2 separate regions of the Homo sapiens genome follow, and region 1 is linked to region 2. The links are contacts of gene promoters, found by promoter capture Hi-C in human tissues and cell types (Jung and others, 2019). All regions are on one chromosome and are shown on one strand. The core of a region is centred on a gene start or on the middle of the fragment in contact, and the rest is flanking DNA. Distances in the headings are between cores, read along the strand shown.

Region 1 (5,810 bases), core at 1,939-4,438, 84 kb after region 2:
TAGTGTCTGTTGGGTTTTCACTGATCCCAACTCTGCCTAGAGCCTGGGACCAATCCCTCTGTCAGTTCTTCTCTCCTTCAACCTCCTGCTTGTAAATTGGGGCTAATAATACCTGATAACTCACTTTGCTGCTACAGGGATTAACTAATTAGTGGTTATTAAGGGATAGAGGAATGCAGTACTCTGCTCCCATTAAGATGACTTTCCTCCTCCAACTTCCTGCTACTGTGTGCGCAATCTCAGTGTTAGTCAGAAAACCCTGAAAGTCCGGACTTCCAGGACCTCCATGATACAGATAAAGAAACTGAGGCTGAGGAGCAGGAAGGAGTAGCCTGTGACCATGCAGCGTCTTGTAGCAGAGAGGGGACCAGAACTCAGGGCACTGGGCTTCTGTCTAGTCTTCCTCCATCATCCCCAGTGGAAGTGGTCCAGGGTGATCCTTGGGCTAGGAGGGAAGATTTATGGAAAGGCTCTCACACCCAGTGCCTGGCTCACAGGGGATCCACAGTTTGATTTTCGGGGAACAAAATTTGGCATCAGCCAGACCCAGGTGCCAGTCCTGGCATCTTGGCTTACTGGGTGACTTTGTACATGTTACCTGCTTCCTGCTTAACTGTCAGTTTGTTCACCTGTAAGTGAGGATAATGACACCTTCCTCAAAGGTTGCTGTGAGGACTGGCCCCACACAGTATTTGGAAAACAGTAGGCATCATGTTGTTCTGATTATATTGTTGTTCTTGTGGATTGCCGTGCTGGACAGAGCTCTCCCTGCCCAGGAGCAGAGCTTCCCTGAGGGCTCCTGTGGGCTACACCTTGGCTGGGGGCTTCCAGGTGCAGCACCTCACTTCATCCTCACCCCAGTCAGCCCATTTGACAGAGTTGCACATGGAGGCTCAGACAGAGTTACTAGCCCATTTGACAGAGTTGCACATGGAGGCTCAGAAGGGAAAATAACTTGCCTGAAGCCATGCTTTCATTAGCAGTGAGATGGCAGCATTTTCAGTCTTTTTCTTTCTATCTCCTCACTCTCTTTCACCCTTTATTTCCTGTCCATTGCCCTTTCTCTTTACTGTAGAGAAGTTTGAGTGATGCCCAGTTCATTACAAGCCATGCCCCCTCAGGCTTCTCACACCCCTCCCTCATATAGCCCATCTGCACCCACCTCAGGTTTCAGGCATTTGCTGGAAGGTGCGTGGGGGTGCAGGAAGACACTGTGTCTGACCAGGCTCAGTGTGTGTGTGTAGGGGGGACAAGACTATGACATGCACCAGCCTCAGCCCTGGGTATGATCTCTCTGTAATAATATTGATGACAATGTTGGTGTTAGCTTCCATGGCTGAGCACTGAGCCAGCATTCATTGTCTCCTTACTGCAACATGTGGGCTCCATACTACTAGCTCCCTGCTACTGGCTCCATTTTAAACATGAAGAAATGGAGGCTGAGAGAGGTGAAGTGACTTGCCCAAAGTCACATAGTCGGTAAACGGTTACAATTTAAACCCAAGTCTTTTGCCCCTGTGGTCTGTGCCCATAATCAGATTCTGTATACCTCTGAACTCCTCCACCTTCCTTGGGGCCTGGAGTCTTGGGACTGACACAGGTTCAAACCTGGGTTGTTTCTGGTCACATCCATCCTTCAGATTCCTGCAGTTGTCCCCTCAACCCAGAGTGACAGCCATGTATACATAGGCAGTCTAATGGGAATAATAATGCAGAGTTATTGAAGATGGAATACAAGCAGAGCACTCATTAAGGTGCCTGGCACATGGTGAACACACAGTGTATGGCAGTAGTTGTTATTATAGACATGACGTTGGCCTCCTGTGGAAATGTGGGGGTCCATGTGCTCAGGGGAAAGGGAAGTAGAGGAAGTCAGGCTAGCAGGACAGAGCATCCCGTCCCTGGTGACCTGTTAAGGCTGCAGCCAGAAGAAAAATAAAACTTAGGGGCATGGTCGTTGTCTCTGAGGGGCTACCCTGGGGCAGAAGGAACAGATGTGGTCTGTGGGGGCCACAGAGGACAAAGCCAGTGGGGAGGAGTTGCGGGAGGGAGGATGATTTTTAAATACTCAAAGAAGGAAAGGGTCGGCTTGAGTGGTGTTGAATTCCCCAAACTGGAGGTGAGCGAGCAGATGCTGGAAGTGGGCCGGCATCTGTGTCGCAGAAGGCATTTGAATGGCTGCATGGCATGATTACTGAGGTCTCAGACAGGAGTGTTACAAGACGGCTGATTTTGACCCTGACTGAGCAAGTGTTTTCTGGCAGAGCTGTCTAAAGATGCATCTCGCTGCTTCAGGGAATGGTAGTGAGGCTCGTGTCTTGGGGAGTGTTTAGGCAGAAGCTGGATAGTCACTGGACAGGGACGTTGTTGAAGGCATTAGTATATCAGATAGCAGGCTGGATTAGATGACCCCTTAGTGAGAGGTGACACGGCACTGGAGAAAAAGAGGGGGCCTGAGTCTGAAGTCTGATCCAGGCTCTGACATTTGCCTGTTGGGAAATCTTGGGCAAGTCACAACCTCTCTGAGTTCTGATTTCCTCACCTGTAAAATGAAAATCATAATTCCTTCCCTCCTTGCTGTCTAGGATTGTAGCGAAGGGTTGGAGATACGCAAACTGTAAAAAGGCTTTGTGAACTCTGAAGCTGCTGTGAATGACTCGTTTGACTCACTTGACCCTGTTGGGGGACAGGAAGAGTGGCTTTTGGATCTTAATCCAAAAAAACACAATCCCAAACACCATCATCCTGAAAGCTGAATTCTGGAGGTGGGATTAGTGGGGGTTTCGGTTGCACACAGAGCAGTTACATTATGTTAGTTGCATCACGTTAGGCGGAACTATTACCTTGCTGTTGTCTTTATTTGCATCTGGTGGAAAATTCAGATGAGTTGTTTGGCCAAGCAATATTGCAGTTATGAAAACTTCTGTTTAAGAATGTTTCCTTGGCCTGCATTGACATTCCTTCTAGCTGATGACATTCCAGGAGCTTTTAATGAATTAAAGCCACATTTGCCTGAAGAAGCTGGTGACGTTATTGACTAGTTTGAAAACAATTATTTTCGTGGTAGGATAAGGAGACAGCCAATGGTGTTACAATGTGTTACTGTTTGATCGCCATTATCGTTTCCACCAAATTTGTGGTCTGTATATGCACGCTTGTGGAATGCATTTTGGAGTACTCAAAACAACACAGAAGCAGGGCTCAAAAGATTGGAAAATTTAATAGGAAATGCTAATGTCAGTGTGTATTGTATCATAGAAGGATTTCAAAAAGAGCAGTGCCACATAGAAAATGAATGTGAATGTATTTTCCAAGGAGATCTGTGTCCAAAAAAATAATAAGCAGCTATTTATCATGATGCAAGACTTCAAAACATAGTTAATAATCATGAAAATCAGCTAGCTCTTATGGACTATCTCTGTGCAATTGCCCATAATCTATCCCTATAATACACTTTTCAATATGTCAAATTTTCTTTTTAGTTTTTAAATCTTTTGGGGTTTTCCCCCTACTATTTAAAATTGTCAGTATTATTTTTTACAATTCACTACCCTTCATATCTCATCTTTGCATCATTTCCAATACTTGTAGTATAAATTGTATAGAGGCTTTCAGAGTTCTAATTTGTTTTATGCAGCTTTTACAAATTTGACTCCATGAAAGTACAGCATCACAATGTTGGCTTGTGTGTAAGCATTGTACATGTATGTAAAAACATTGAAGCTTCCTCAGTAAAGGAAAATATGTCCTTTTTTGTACATCTGCATTTGTAAAAATAACATTTCTTGAGATCTTGGCCCTTTGGGTGACTGCATATTTGGTGGTGACGCACCATGGTTTTTTATTGATGTCATCAAAAGACTTAGGATGTTCATCATGGTATTTCAGATGACTGCCGTTATAAATCTGGGTGCCTACAACTACTAACTATGGTGGTATGCATTTATACATTTCCATTTGTAACCTATTTCTTTATGAATATAGTACATCTGCTCATAACTGTCATACTTGTATAACTGTTGTTAGTACACTTGAGTATTTATGCTTGCAAAAATATGTATGATATTATTGCCTATTTTATTGTGTAAAGTGGCCTATGTGTTTTTGTGTTTCTCAAATAAATCTTCTTTTAAAGATGTAAATAAATATCTTTTCAAGAATTTTTAAATTATTTTTTCCAGAATTGTGTTTTTGGGATTTTGATCCTTCAGGATTTTTCAATATTTGGGATTATGGTGTTCAAGGTTGTCTCTTCCGGGATTATGATCTGCTCCTGGAAAGGGGTGTGGAGAAAGATGGGTGGAAAGGAAGGAGAGAGAGGAGGAAGGAGGCTGTGTCTGGCCTAGTGCTGGGTGCTGGGTTGGAAAAGAATGGTGTTTGTAGCAGATGGTCTGCCCCTCTTAGTTCTGCAGCCATAGTTTGAGTTTCTAGAAAAGGACTTTCTACAATGATGGAAATGTTCTATGTTTGTGTTGTCCAATCAGTAGCCAGTAGCTACATAGGGTTATTGAGGCCTTTGAGGCTAGTGTGACTGAGGAACTAAATTTTAACTTTTATTTAGTTAGTTTAATTTTTTTTTTTTTTTTTTTTTTTTGTGAGACAGAGTCTCCCTCTGTTGCCCAGGCTGGAGTGCAGTGGCGCAATCTCGACTCACTGCAACCTCCGCCTCCCAGCTTCAAGCAATTCTCCTGCCTCAGCCTCCTGAGTAGCTGGGGCTACAGGCACATGCTACCATGACTAGCTAATTTTTGTATTTTTAGTAAAGATGGGGTTTCACCATATTGGTCAGGCTGGTCTCGAACTCCTGACCTCAGGTGATGCACCCGCCTTGGCCTTCCAAAATGCTGGGATTACAGACGTGAGCCACTGCACCTGGCCCAATTAGTTTAAATTTAAATAGCCACATGTGGCTGGTGGCTACCATACTGGACAACTCAGCTCTAGAAGAAGTGACAGGAGCCTCTCTTCTTTCCACCTTTCCTATCCTCCTTTCTTAGCAGGTGTTGTTGACTTATGCTGTGCTGGACACTGTGGAGGCCACCAAGATGAACAAGATATGGTCCCAGCTCCCGAGAGCCCCCAGCTCATTGTGTGAGAGGGACAGATAAGCATGTGGATAGAAACTACAACCCAAAGGGAGGCGTGCAGCCCTCCAGCTGTGTGGGAGCAGAAGGAGGAAGCTATTCACTCAGTTGGGACTGCGAAGGCTGTACTGTGAAGGATGAGTTAGGAGGCCTGGGTGGGAGAAAGCCTTTTTGAAGAGGGAAGAGCAGAGCCAAAGCTTGAAGGCAAGAAACAGCATAGAGTGTTTGGAGAATTCAGACTGAGGTGAGGCTGGGGAAACCAAATCCCACACTCTGTTCCCATCACCAAGCAATGACTGGTGAGCTGACGGAGCGAAGAGCTTCAAGGTCAGTCCTAGTGAGGGTCCTGTTCACCCAACCTGCCTTGCACCATTCAGGACATGTAAAGGGTATGGCACTGGGGGCCCCTCCCTCCACCTCCAACTCACAGAGTCTTGTCTCCCTGCCTTTCCTGCACAGAAGGCCTCAGGGCCCCAAGATCCTCCTTTGGCAAAATCCCCAAGAGTCTCCCTCTGACAACACACCCTTCTTTTCTTCACCCTTCTGACCGAAAACTTAGTCCTGACTCATGCCTTGGCATTCCTGGGCTGGGGTGTCTGCTGATTTTACTGGTGCTGGGCTGACAGCTGGACTGACTTCCTGCATTCAGCACCACCTCACTTTAGTCCATCCCATGACAGCAGTCCAGAGAACCTTTCTCAAAGTGACTAGGACAAATGTCGACAC
Region 2 (6,366 bases), core at 1,804-4,303:
TGAGCCTGCTACTTAAGCAAGATACAAAATGAAGTTAAAATTCCAGTTTCTTTCTAAAGCTCACTTTACTGACTGCCCTAACTTAATTTTTCTCTTTCCTTTTTGCATGGGGGAGGCTGCTGAGGTGTAGCAGGGGGTGCTGGGGATGGAAGAGCCCTCCCCAGCTACTGAAAGGCGTCACCAACGGGCTCCTTGAATCCTCTCATCTCCTTAAACTTTAGTTCACCCTTTGGGTCCAGGGCTGCGTGATGACAAGAAACAGTGGACAAATGAACGAATGTACTTCTCTCTGCCTTATAATGGAAAAGCAGATTTATGACTGGGCAGTAACAGCCATGAAATTACCAGCACGTCCTGCTCAAAAGTTCAATAAGTTATGATATAATTGCTGCCTGGAGCCAATCCTGGGACTTTAGGTTAGACGCTTGGCCATGAACTCTTTTCCGTTCCCTAGAACAGCGGCTAGGCTTTGGGTGGCTACTCAGAGGCCCTGGGTGGCCCACCATTGCTGCCAAATACGCAGGGCAGCATCCAAGATGATGGGGCCCTGAATGATAACCCGGGGGCGGTGGATAGAGTCCTGCAGCCCTCTAGTGTAACAGATGGGGGAGACTGAAGGTTCAGGTGATGGGACTGGAGTGCTGACGCACAGTTCAACTCGGAGCTAGGTCTCAAGTTCTCAGAGACAGGGAAAACCAGCCCAGGTCAACCAGAGCAGAGATTTCTCCAATTTAAAAAAGAAGAAAAGCCTATTTCTTTTGCAAATTTGTCCTCCTCACTTTAAGAAGAAAGGCGCTGCCGCAGCCTTTTATTGTAGTAACGCAGTTAAAGGCACTAGAGGACGAACCGCGTAAAAAGGCCCGAGTTCCGGCAGCACATGGAAGGCTGAAACTGATTCCCCACAATTTGGATCCTGGTCTCTGGTGTTGACACTACGCTGCCCTCTGGTTACCGCCAAGGACCCTCCCCGATAGAATACCAGAAAGCATCCCGTTTGAGGGCTTCGCTCCATCGAGGGTCCCTGTGCCAGTCCAAGGGCTCTGGCTGCCTCGCCCCACCTCCTCCCGTTTACAGAGTACACCGGGTGCCTACGCTGTGCGCGGGGAGACCGAGCCTCTGTGGCCTGCTCGGTCTTTTCCACGTGGGTCCCAGTTGAGTCCTCTCTCCATTCCTGTTCGTTCTCAGATTGCGGGGAACGTGTGAACAGCCGATGTGTCTATGAGTTTTCGTCCCTACGCTGGCTCACATGGCGGACACGAACCGATCTATCCCACCGGGATAAGCGGCAGCATGGCGAGCATGGTAGGCGCCTGCACTGGCCCCTCCGAGCTGCCCGCCAGGGTTGTAGCAGGCTCCCAGCGCTCCGAACTGGCCGGGCGACGTGCGCCCGTAGAAGTCCACCGTGGTCTCCACGCCGCCACTGCTGCCGCCCGCTGGGGGCGAAGCGGGTCCCGCCAGGCGGCCAGCAGCGGCAAAGATCGCACTGCCGGCGCCCTGCGGGTACGCGCCGTCGGGGCCCGCGTAGGCAGCCGCATAGGCGGAGGGGTTGGCCGGCCGGGCCCCGGTGCAGCCTGCGGGCTGGTAGCCGGTGGTGGTAGCGGGGGCGCCGGCGGAGGCAAAGGCGCAAGAGCCGCCGGGCCCCGACGGTGCGGGCCCCAGCTCTGGGCTGAGCGGCCGCTCAGGAACCAGGCCGAAGACGCGGCAAGGGCCGGGCGACGCCGCGGGGTAGTAGACTGGAGGCGGCGCGGCCAGCGACGGCGGCGCGTAGCCTGCATAGACGGCGCCCGGGTAGGGGGGGCGCGCGGCGGGCACCGCGCCTGGGAAGATGGCGGCGGCGGCGGCGGCGGCGGCGGCGGCGGCTGCGGCAGCCGCCGCGTCGTGCATGTAAGCCGGGTAGGTGGAGAGGTCCGAGCGCTTGAAGCGCTTGCGGCGGCGCAGGAAGCTGCCGCTCTCGAACATGTCCTCCGCGTTGGGGTCAAGCGCCCAGTAGTTGCCCTTACCCGGGCGGCCGGCCTCGCGCGGGATCTTGAGGAAGCAGTCGTTGAGTGTGAGGTTGTGGCGGATGCTGTTCTGCCACTTTTTGGGGTTGTCGCGGTAGAAGGGGAAGCGCTCGGTGATGAACTTGTAGATGCCGCCCAGCGTGAGGCGGCGCTCGGGCGCGTGCGCGATGGCCATGGCGATGAGCGCGATGTAGCTGTAGGGCGGCTTCCCGCGCTGCAGGGGGCGCTTGCGGCGCCGCCCGCCCGCCCCGCGGCCCGTGGCCTCCCCTGGGACCCCGGCCCCTGCTGCCGTCTCGCCGCGCTCTTCCTTCACGGTAGCCAGCACCTCCGGCTGCGGCGGCGGCGGCCCGCTCTCGGCAGTCATGGCGCGGGCGTCCCGCACCCCCGGGCTCTGGATCCCCGCGGCTGTCGGGGGGCGGGGGCGGGCCTGGCGTCCCCGGAACGGACGCTCGGCCCTTCTGCGGAGAGCTCAGGGGATCGTCGCGGGCTGGCCCCGAGAGCCCAGCGGCCCAGGCTGGCACGCGCTGGAGGCTCAGCGTCCGTGGTCTGGGGCTGGCGCGGTGCAGACAGAGGCTCGGGAGTGACCCGCTAGCCGACGGCTCAGCCCGCGTGGTGCTTCTCGAGGCGGGCAGCGGCGGTGGCCTCGTGACCGGGACTGGACTCTGGTCTCCGGCTGAAGGGTCCCTTGCGCGCTGGTGCCGGGCGGTCGAGGGGTCCGGAAGTGATCCCTGGGTTGGGGTGGCTGCAGCTGGTCTGTGGTGCCCGCTAGTTTAGGATTACTGCCTAGGTTGTGCGCGCAGAAGAGGCTTCGGGCTCGAAGGCCAGAGCGAGGGCAGTTAGTACTGGCGCTGGGCGATCTGGCGGGGGCCGCCCATGCCCTGCCCCCGAGGCCAAGGTGGCCGTAAGCGCCACGGGCAGAGAGGCGAGGCGGGGGCAGCGAGGTCGGGGCGCGGGCCCAGGCGGGGCGACCTGAGGCTGGTCCTCTCCACGGCGTGGGTCTCCAGCCCTGCGGACCGCTGGCGAGGCGCTCCCCTGCACACACCGGACCGGCTCCTCCCTCCGCCGGCTTCCCCTCCTTAAAGGGGCCACGAAGCGTGGGGCGGCACCGGTTCCCTGCCCGCCCCCCGACTGCCCGCCCCCCGGGGCCCGGGCGCACCTCCCCAGGTAGGAGCAGCTGTGGCGGCGCGGTAGGAGCCCCACAGCGTCAGGGCGGGGAGGGCGCTTGGAGATCCCCCGGGTCGGCCCCCTCCGCACCCCGATCGACTGAGGCCCGGAGAGTTCAGGAACCGGCTCGGGAGACCTCAGCGCCCGAACTCGGAGTTTTCGGACTTTTCAGGCCTCTGCCAAGGGCTTGGACTCGCAGGTGAAAGGACGGGCTCATCTCACTTTTTTGTCCTGAGAGGGTGAGAATTGGCCGAGAGGGCGCTTGGTTTTTGTGGGAATGGGGAGGGAGAAGTTCCAGGAGACTGGCTCCCCGGGCCTTTCAGGATGGTTTCCAAACCCCAATCGTGGCTGCCACAGCCACTCGGCACTCCAGTCCCCCCATCTTTCGAATGAGTATTCCTAGGCCCGAAAGGGAAGGTGACTTGCCATGGCCCCACTGCGGCTTCTCCGCTTAGCGGAGTCTCCAACCTGCGTCTCCTTTAGGACTGCGCTTCCCAACTGTGTGGTAGAGGTAGCCGCTTTCCCTTTTTGGGCCCCAGGTCCCTCGACTGTACCGGGGTCTGGATCTCTCAAGAGTCCTTGCGTGGTAGATATTTAGGGATAGGCCAATCACCACCCCCAATCATCCGTCTTTGAGAGGCCCAGGATCTGTCTCTATTTGATGGATAGTGGTGCACGGATTAAAGACGACGCAGGATAGGTAACCTCCTCCTCCAATCCCCCGGGACCAGGGTAGCTCTGAAGACCCCCAGAGGCAGCCAAGCAGCCCCTTCCCGCAGCGGGGAGTGAGGGCTGCGGGTAATGGGGGAGTGGGAAGAGAGCGGTGGCCGGGTGGGCGCGTCTCCGGGGGAAGGGGCGGGCAGTCGGGACACGTTTGCTTCATGGGTGTCCAATTTCTGAGTTCCTTTCCTGCTGTCCCTGAGCCGGAACTTGGTCCTAACCTGAGATCCTCGCGGCGCGGCCCCTCTGGCCCGGGTTCGTTCCCTGGCCATTCACTGGGAGATCCAGGGCCTGTCCTTGTCCCCTCGCAGGGCCTCAGTGTTCTACTCTGTTAAATAGCAGCTGGAGGGCGTGTGCTGATCTCCGAGGCCCCTGCTACGTATAGGATTCCGGGCCTTGGCGCGGGTTCCAGTGGCTCCAGCCCGGACGCAGCTTTCCGGGGTGGGGGGGGGGGGCGGGCCGGGGCTGTGGGTGCAGAGCCGCGCGGATGGTGGTGCCAGGTGAGTGTGGGAGATCCCAAGACGAGAGTTCTGGCCAGTAACGGGTGGCATGCCTTCCAGGGTTTTAGTCGCGTTCTTCGTGGCGGTGAGCTGAGGGCAGGCTAAGCCCGGCCAAGCGTTGGGCAGCTGCCTTCGGAAGAGCGAGGCAAAGCCCAGATCCTTGCTCCGTCGACCCGGTGTGTGGAAACGCTCAAAGCGTTTGCTTGACAACCTTCTGCGGCAGAGGGTTGGTCGAACGAAGGGAGAGGGGCTTTACACTCGCTAAACAAAACTCCTGGTTTCCTTCTTCCCAAGTAATGGAGAAGCAAAAAACCCAGATTTCGTCCTGTTTCGTTTTTACAAAGGAGGAAAAACTTCAAATTTTAAAATTTTTAACTGGATTATATTATAGGCACCTTTTAATACGGGATTTCGTGGCTCTCAGTAACTTTCAAGATTCTGAGATTCAGATATCTAGATTTTAAATTCTGGACGACCGTTGTCCTAACGTGATTCCATAAATCTAAAGAATGCGATCCTGCGATCCTGCGACCCTGTAATTCTAAGATTCCAAGACTGGGAGTCTAACTTTGACTATGCTTATATTCCTTTGACTTAAGCTTCTAGTCAAAGTCTAAAAACCTATGTATTAAGATACTGGGACTAAACCAGGCACGGTGGCGGGAGCCTGTAGTCCCAGCTACTGGAGGTTAAGGCAGGAAGATCGCTTGAGCCCAGGAGTTCCAGGCTGTAGTGCACAATCATTGTGCCTGTGAGTAGCCACAGCACTCCAGCCTGTGCAGCAAAGGGAGACCCGGTCTCTTAAAAGCAAAACAAAACAAACAAAAAACGGGGACCTAAGATTTTGTGCCTGAAAATATGATGCCACTCTTGAAGCTGCCACTTCTCCAGTTTTTTATTTTTTCCACTCTAAGTTATATATTATTTAATTTGAATTCCTGTTTAGGAATGTCTGATTGGAAGAATTTGAATCCTGTAAATCCGCAGTTCTCTCCTTCCTTAATTCTAAAATGTTAGTGCTGGATCTGCTATTCTGTAGTTCAAATAATCTGATTCCAATAATTCTTCTAATGTTTGTGATTATATGCTGTAATGATTAGTCCCATGACTTTATGATCCTCTACTTTTAAGCTGCAACGACTATGGCTAAAAGCCTTCTTGTCTCAGGATTTTCTGTTCTTCAGTGTCTTGTGTCTGTGACCTCATTCTTCTAGAATTCTGATGGTTTTCTCAAACTTTGTTAATATCAAGCTACTCCTGTGGCCGAGACCAAATACCTAGCATCATGAGATTAGAATTTCCAAGATCATGATTCTAAGATTTTCGCAAACCAAGGACCCCTAAATTTCTATTTCATAAATGTTCTCTTTGAATAATGCATTTGAAGATTCTGTGAGTCCACAGTGAGTTCACATTAAATGATTTGGTGAGTACACAGGTCACAAGTTTACCCGTTTGGATCAAAACCATACACAAAAATCTCCTCGGGGCATTTCCTATCTCTTCCCATTGCTTCCTTCTCAGTTTCTTGAGAAGGAACATGGTCATGGCCAAGTCCTCCCCTCTTCTCTGCCACAGTGCTCCTTAACGTTTATGAATCATCTGGAAGTTAGGAAGGGCAGGTTCCAGACCCTTGGAAATCATTCTCCCAATCCAGCAGGGGTGGGTTGGTGTTGATGTGGGCAGGCCAGTGATTTCTGCTTCCCACTGATCTTCAGCCCTTCAAGTATTCCCAGCACCCCTGGAGAAGCCAGCCTGCAGCAGGCCATTTTATGTGCATAGGGGGCTGGAGGTGCTATTGGGAATCTTTAGAAGATGTTCTTCTGCAACAGCTGCTTTCCTCAGTTTTGAATGGGCGACTTTGTAAATAAAAACGAGAGGGGTCCAAGGAGTCAAGGAAAATTCCTCCAGATTCCTTGACGGAGATTCCCCTGCATGCAGACGCAGAGGTAACCAGTTCTTCTATTAAAGAAACCATGGAA

The links. The method cuts DNA at HindIII sites, captures the fragments that hold promoters and counts their contacts. A contact is called where the count stands out against the background at its distance.
Region 1: a fragment that was not itself captured here is called in contact with the fragment with the promoter of FOXE1 in region 2 in 7 of the 25 tissues and cell types used here (IMR-90 fibroblasts, aorta, heart right ventricle and 4 more).

What each region holds. Positions count from the first base shown.
Region 1 is chr9:97,766,129-97,771,938 of GRCh38, reverse strand. The region is part of intron 5 of PTCSC2 (papillary thyroid carcinoma susceptibility candidate 2); the gene reads left to right. Among named protein-coding and RNA genes, the nearest start is that of XPA, 72 kb to the right of the region's middle. RefSeq lists an enhancer at 1-56. The HindIII fragment of the contact is 8,607 bases long and covers 1-5,810 here.
Region 2 is chr9:97,849,913-97,856,278 of GRCh38, reverse strand. FOXE1 (forkhead box E1) reads right to left here and starts at 3,053. Exons shown (of 1, transcript NM_004473.4): 1 at 1-3,053. The coding sequence starts at 2,364. The coding sequence ends at 1,243. PTCSC2 (papillary thyroid carcinoma susceptibility candidate 2) reads left to right here and starts at 3,199. Exons shown (of 11, transcript NR_147055.1): 1 at 3,199-3,363. RefSeq lists an enhancer at 4,085-4,586. The HindIII fragment of the contact is 9,888 bases long and covers 1-6,366 here.